2 separate regions of the Homo sapiens genome follow, and region 1 is linked to region 2. The links are contacts of gene promoters, found by promoter capture Hi-C in blood cells and fetal thymus (Javierre and others, 2016). All regions are on one chromosome and are shown on one strand. Each heading gives the region's core, a stretch centred on a gene start or on the middle of the fragment in contact. The rest is flanking DNA. Distances are from core to core; before and after follow the strand shown.

Evidence for each region. Contacts are between HindIII fragments. The CHiCAGO score rates a contact against its expected background, and 5 or more counts as called.
Region 1: a contact is called between a fragment that was not itself captured here and the fragment with the promoter of TBC1D2B in region 2, in 15 of 17 cell types (total CD8 T cells, activated CD4 T cells, naive CD8 T cells and 12 more). The highest score is 11.7, in total CD8 T cells.

What each region holds. Positions count from the first base shown.
Region 1 is chr15:78,009,352-78,012,051 of GRCh38, forward strand. All of the region lies in intron 9 of TBC1D2B (TBC1 domain family member 2B), which reads right to left. Among named protein-coding and RNA genes, the nearest start is that of TBC1D2B, 67 kb to the right of the region's middle. The HindIII fragment of the contact is 474 bases long and covers 1,061-1,534 here.
Region 2 is chr15:78,076,444-78,079,143 of GRCh38, forward strand. TBC1D2B (TBC1 domain family member 2B) reads right to left here and starts at 1,268. Exons shown (of 13, transcript NM_144572.2): 1 at 850-1,268. The coding sequence starts at 1,209. RefSeq lists silencers at 744-943, 1,144-1,353, 1,504-1,553. The HindIII fragment of the contact is 13,244 bases long and covers 1-2,700 here.

The sequences.
Region 1 (2,700 bases), core at 48-2,547, 67 kb before region 2:
TAGCAAGACTCCATCTCTAAAAAAACAAAAAACCAAAAATCAGCCAGGAGTAGCGACGCACACCTGTAGTCCTAGCTACCCAGTAGGCTGAGGCAGGAGGATCACTTGAGCCCAGGAGGTGGAGGCTACAGTGAATGATAATCGCACTACTGCACTCCAGCCTGTGCAACAGAACAAGACCTTGTCTCATTAAAAAAAAAAAAGGAGGGGGTGCATTTCCTAAAATTTGAGAAGCAAAGCTACTTTTCCCCACTTTCATTTGGTTTTTGTTCAAAGATGAAATTGTTTCCCAATGATCAGCCAGCCTCATTAAAAAAAAGTTTTCATTATAAGATTTTTGCGGCTGGGCGCAATGGCTCACGCCTGTAATCCCAGCACTTTGGGAGGCCGAGGCGGGCAGATCACGAGGTCAGGAGATTGAGACCATCCTGGCTGACACGGTGAAACCCTGTCTCTACTAAAGATACAAAAAAATTAGCCAGGCGCGGTGGCGGGCGCCTGTAGTCCAAGCTACCTGGGAGGCTGAGGCAGGAGAATGGCGTGAACCCGGGAGGCAGAGCTTGCAGTGAGCCGAGATAGCTCCACTGCACTCCGGCCTGGGCGAGAGAGCCAGACTCCGTCTCAAAAAAAAAAAAAAAAAAAGATTTTTGCAAATGCAGCTGATTCTTTGAGTTCATCAAGAAGTTCCAAATAACCCTTTTATGCACAAAAATTCCAGATGTGAATGTAAGTAACAAAGAATACAGAATGGTTTAAAACAGCTTTCCCAACACCATCCTGCTTCCAGGCTGAAGGAATAAAATGGGCTGCAGATGAGGGCACCCCAAAGGAGCTAACAGCGCTGTGCCCACTGCATGCACAGCAGGGGAAGAGGACCATGTGTCTCACTTGCTTTGTTGTTCATAACGGAAACTGGGGTCAGCTATTTACATGCTGTCACTAATCAATAGCCCTGGTATGGCTCCAAGCGGGAATCTGGAGCAGCAGGATGGAAAGGAAGAGGTGAGAGAAAGGCCTCCCTCTACTCAGCTGAAATCCAAAACTTCTGCCCATCACACGAAGCTTATAAGCAACACTCATGGGAAAATCCCTGAAGCCATTTCTCAGAATATTTTTCTTAGATAAAACTATAATGAACTCATCTCAAATTAAATGGAAAAAAAGTCCAGGAAGGGGATGTCTCAAGTATGCAGGGATGGGATGGAAAGGAGAATGGTGACCACTGGCAGAGACAGAGGAGAGAAAAACAAGACACGCAAGCAGAGACACCAAATTGAGAGACAGGACTCGATGGCGCCAGGAGAAGGGGTAGAGAGTCTGAAAGCGACAGAGCCTTTGAGGACATCACTTAAATTCACCAATATTCCAGATGACAGGTCTGAATCACCATCATCTAGACAAGGCTACAGTTGTCCTTCTAAAGTTCTGGGTGCTCAGAAGCCATGAACATGTACCAAATACTGTGAAGAAAAAAATCCCAAAGAATTACAATTCAGAGGTTTTAACGGTGGTGAGGGCGGAAGTGTAGACAGAAAGCTTCAATTATCTGGAAGTGTCATTTATGTAGGAAAAAACTGATTCCATGACAATGCCAGATAAATGGAGCATTACTGTACCCCAAACAGGCATACTCAAGTCCTCACCAGGACCCTGAGTTTCACGGGTTTCCAGCTTCCAGGAATTTTTAGATTGAGTATGCAATGTGAATGGTGGCTTTAAGCAAAACAAAACTGCTTTATTAGGCAGGATCCTACTTACAGGCTTTTTAAAAGTGGAGACTGTCTAGGAGTAGCTATAGTCCCTTTCACCTTCTGAGGGCACATAGAGAGGCTGCCCTATCCTCACCACCACAGAGACAATGACTTACTGAAAACCATTTGGTTTCAGGTCTTAACCAAATAACATTCCAGCTTAAAATCCTTTCTTCCTGCAGTACTCTCATTTCAGACACAAATAGAAAACCCTTACCTGGAGGTCAATACCTGGCATGGAGCAGGAGCAAAAAAGGCCTGTGGGCAGCCATAACAAACGTCAGCACTCAGAACTCCAGCTCATGCATGGCTTACAGAATTCCTAAGGTACACATGCAGAACTTTTTCATTCTTACTTTATCCATATCTTTTTTTTTTTTTTTTTTGAGACAGGGTCTCACTGTGTTGCCCAGGCTGGAGTGTAGTGGTGTGATCACAGCTCACCGCAGCCTCAACCTCCTGGGCTCAAGCGATCCTCCCACCTCAACCTCCCAAGTAGCTGGGATTAGAGGCACATGCCACCATGCCCAGCTAATTTTTTGGTTTTTTTTTTTTTTTTTTTTTTAGACAGAGTCTCGCTCTGTTGTTCAGGCTGGAGTGCAGTGGTGCAATGCTGGCTCACTGCAACATCTGCCTCCCGGGTTCAAGTGATTCTCTTACCTCAGCCTCCCGAGTAGCTGGGATTACAGGCATGTGCCACCGTCTGGCAAATTTTTGTATTTTTAGTAGAGACAGGGTCTCACCATATTGGCCAGGCTGGTCTTGAACTCCTGACCTCAGGTGATCCGCCTGCCTCGACCTCCCAAAGTGCCAGGATTACAGGTGTGACCCACCGCACACAGCCAATTTTTTTGTAGGGACGGGGTTTCACCATGTTGCCCAGGCTGGTTTCAAACTCCCGGGCTCAAGCGATCCTTCCACCTTGGCCTCCCAAAGTGTTGGGATTACA
Region 2 (2,700 bases), core at 18-2,517:
ACTCTTTCTGTCTACAGTGCTAAATGCACTCTGGCTCACGCCTGGCATCCCAGCACTTTGGGAAGCTGGATGGGGAGGATGGTTTCGGCCCAGGAGTTCGAGACTAGCCTGGGCAACATAGTGAGACCCCCGTTTCTTTAAAAAAAAAAAAAAATTTAATTAGCCAGGCGTGGTGGCCCGCACCTGTGGTCCCAGCTACTTGGGAGGCTGAGGTGGGAGGATCTCTTGAGCCCAGGCATGGAGGCTGCAGTGAGCCGAGATCGCACCCCTGCACTCCAGCCTGGACAACAGAACAAGATCCTGTCTCAAAAAGAATAAATAAACAAATAAATAAAAGCACTGACATTTACTGAGCAGTTTAAAGTATAATTCATTTAATCCCAACACCCCATGAGGTAGATACTACTGTTATCCCATTTTACAGAGGAGGCCGCTGCAGCCCAGAGCGGTTCACTGAGGTACCAAGGCCATAGGCAAAGTTCTAAAGGAGGCCCCAGGGGTAGAAGCCTACGCTCACGGATGCCTGGGAAGGCTGCACAGGACATCCACGGGATGGTGGGGGTCGGGAGACACCAGAGACTGGCCCGAGGTTAGGCGCAGAGGGAGATAATGGGTCAAGGTGTCTGAGAAAGGAGACGGGGCTTGGTAGCCCCAGCGAGACTGGCCTAAGCCCAGATAGTGGGGAGGAGATAGGAACGAGGGCGGGATGTGGAGAAGCAGGGAAAGGCAGGCCGACGTGGGCAGGGGCGAGGAGGCCTTGGAGGAAGGAGGGTGGATGGCGCAAGCCAGTGGCGGAGGCAGGGGACGCCGGCGGAAGCGCGCGGGCGGCTTTGGGGCGAGCGGTCCCACCTTGAGCACCGTGACGGCTCCCGCGCTGTGCACCTGGAAGTGCGCGGGCGGCTCCGTGCCCGGCTCCGCCGCCTCGTCGGGGCCCTGGTAGCTGAAGCAGGCGTCCGCGATGTCCAAGTGGCCGAGGGGCAGCGCGTCCTGCGGACTCTTGAAATAGTAAAGGTAGCAGCGGCGCGCGTCGAACACGAACCAGCGGCTGCGGTAGCCACGCAGGGGGCCCTTGCCCGACAGCTTCTGCAGATAGCCACACAGCCGCGCTGGCTCCCGCGCCGGACCCGCCCCGGGCTCCGCGGCCGCCCCCTGCGCCGCGCCCTCGCCGCCGCCGCCGCCCTCCTCCGCCCGGGCTCCGGCCCCCGGCATCGCTACCGCGCGCCAACCGTAGGCGCCCGCGCCCTGCGCCTCCGCGCCGCGGCCGCTGCGCCCCCTACCCCCTCCGCACCGCCCCTTCGCTCCGCACGGCCCGCGGGCGCGCAAAGCACCCTGGGACTTGTAGTCTCGCCCCCGCCCGCCCGCCGGCCGTTGCCCCCTCAGCCCCCGGAGGCAGGGTCCTGCGACCAGCACCCCGCGGGTCAGTTGCCTTCGTGCCACCTGGGCTCCAAGTCCTCGCCCTGCCGGATGAAGCAATGGTCTATTTCTTTATGGCAGTGTAGGTACATGGGAGTGTGCATCTCTCAAAACCCAGCGGAGTGTCCGCTTAAAACTGCATTTCACACTGTGTATCTTATTCTAAAAACTTGATATTTAAATCTCCCTCCTGCCAGAGTCTCAAGCTAATATTGTAAAAATGAGACAGCCTATTGCCTGGTGCTGAGTGGGTGCTCAGTAAATATTTGCAGAATTCATGAAAGCCAAAGCGTTTCCTGCCTCTCCAGACCTCAGTTCATTTATTGAATTCAACATATATTTATTGAGCGCCTTCTGAATGCCGGGTACGGTTCTGTATGCCAGGCCCTGGCGGATACAGCAGTGAACAAACCAATCATTCTCCTGCCCTCGTGGAGGTTATATTCTAGTAAGGCAGGGAGGTGACACACAAGAAAGCAGATAAAAGTAATGTGTGCTATGTTGTATAAATGCCGTGATGACATGTAAATGATTACCGCTTAAAATAGCACCTAGTATTTATCAGTGCTTTATAGACTAACTTATTTGAACACTCACAACCTGAGAAGGCAAATCTATTGCTTTGTAATAAAGCAAAGAGAAAGAATGAATAAGACCAAGTATTTGCTAGCACAACAGGGTGACTACAGTCAAAAATAATATAATTGTACGTTTAAAAATAACCAAAAGAGTATAATACAGACGCGGTGGTTCACGCCTGTAATCCCAGCAGTTTGGGAGGCCGAGGTGGGTGGATCACCTGAGGTCGGGAGTTCGAGACCAGCCTGACCAACATGAAGAAACCCTGTCTCTACTAAAAATACAAAATTAGCTGGGCGTGGTGGTGCATGCCTGTAATCCCAGCTACTCGGGAGGCTGAAGCAAGAGAATCTCTTGAACCCCGGAGGTGGAGGTTGCAGTGAGCCGAGGTTGCGCCATTGCACTCCAGCCTGGGCAACAAGAGCAAAACTCTGTCTAAAAAGAAAAAAAAAAGTATAATAGGATTGTTTGTAACACAAAGGATAAATGCTTGAGGTGATGGATACCTTACTTACCCTGATTTGATTATTATGCATTGCATGCCTGTATTAAAATATCTCATGTAACCCATAAATATATACACCTACTATGTTCCCACAAGAATAAAAAATAAGTAAAAAGCAAAGTGAGAGGATGAAGTGATGGGGGGCAGATAGCAGGCTGCTGCCCCAGGACAGGCAAGGAGGCTGGTCTGATCCTGTGACATGG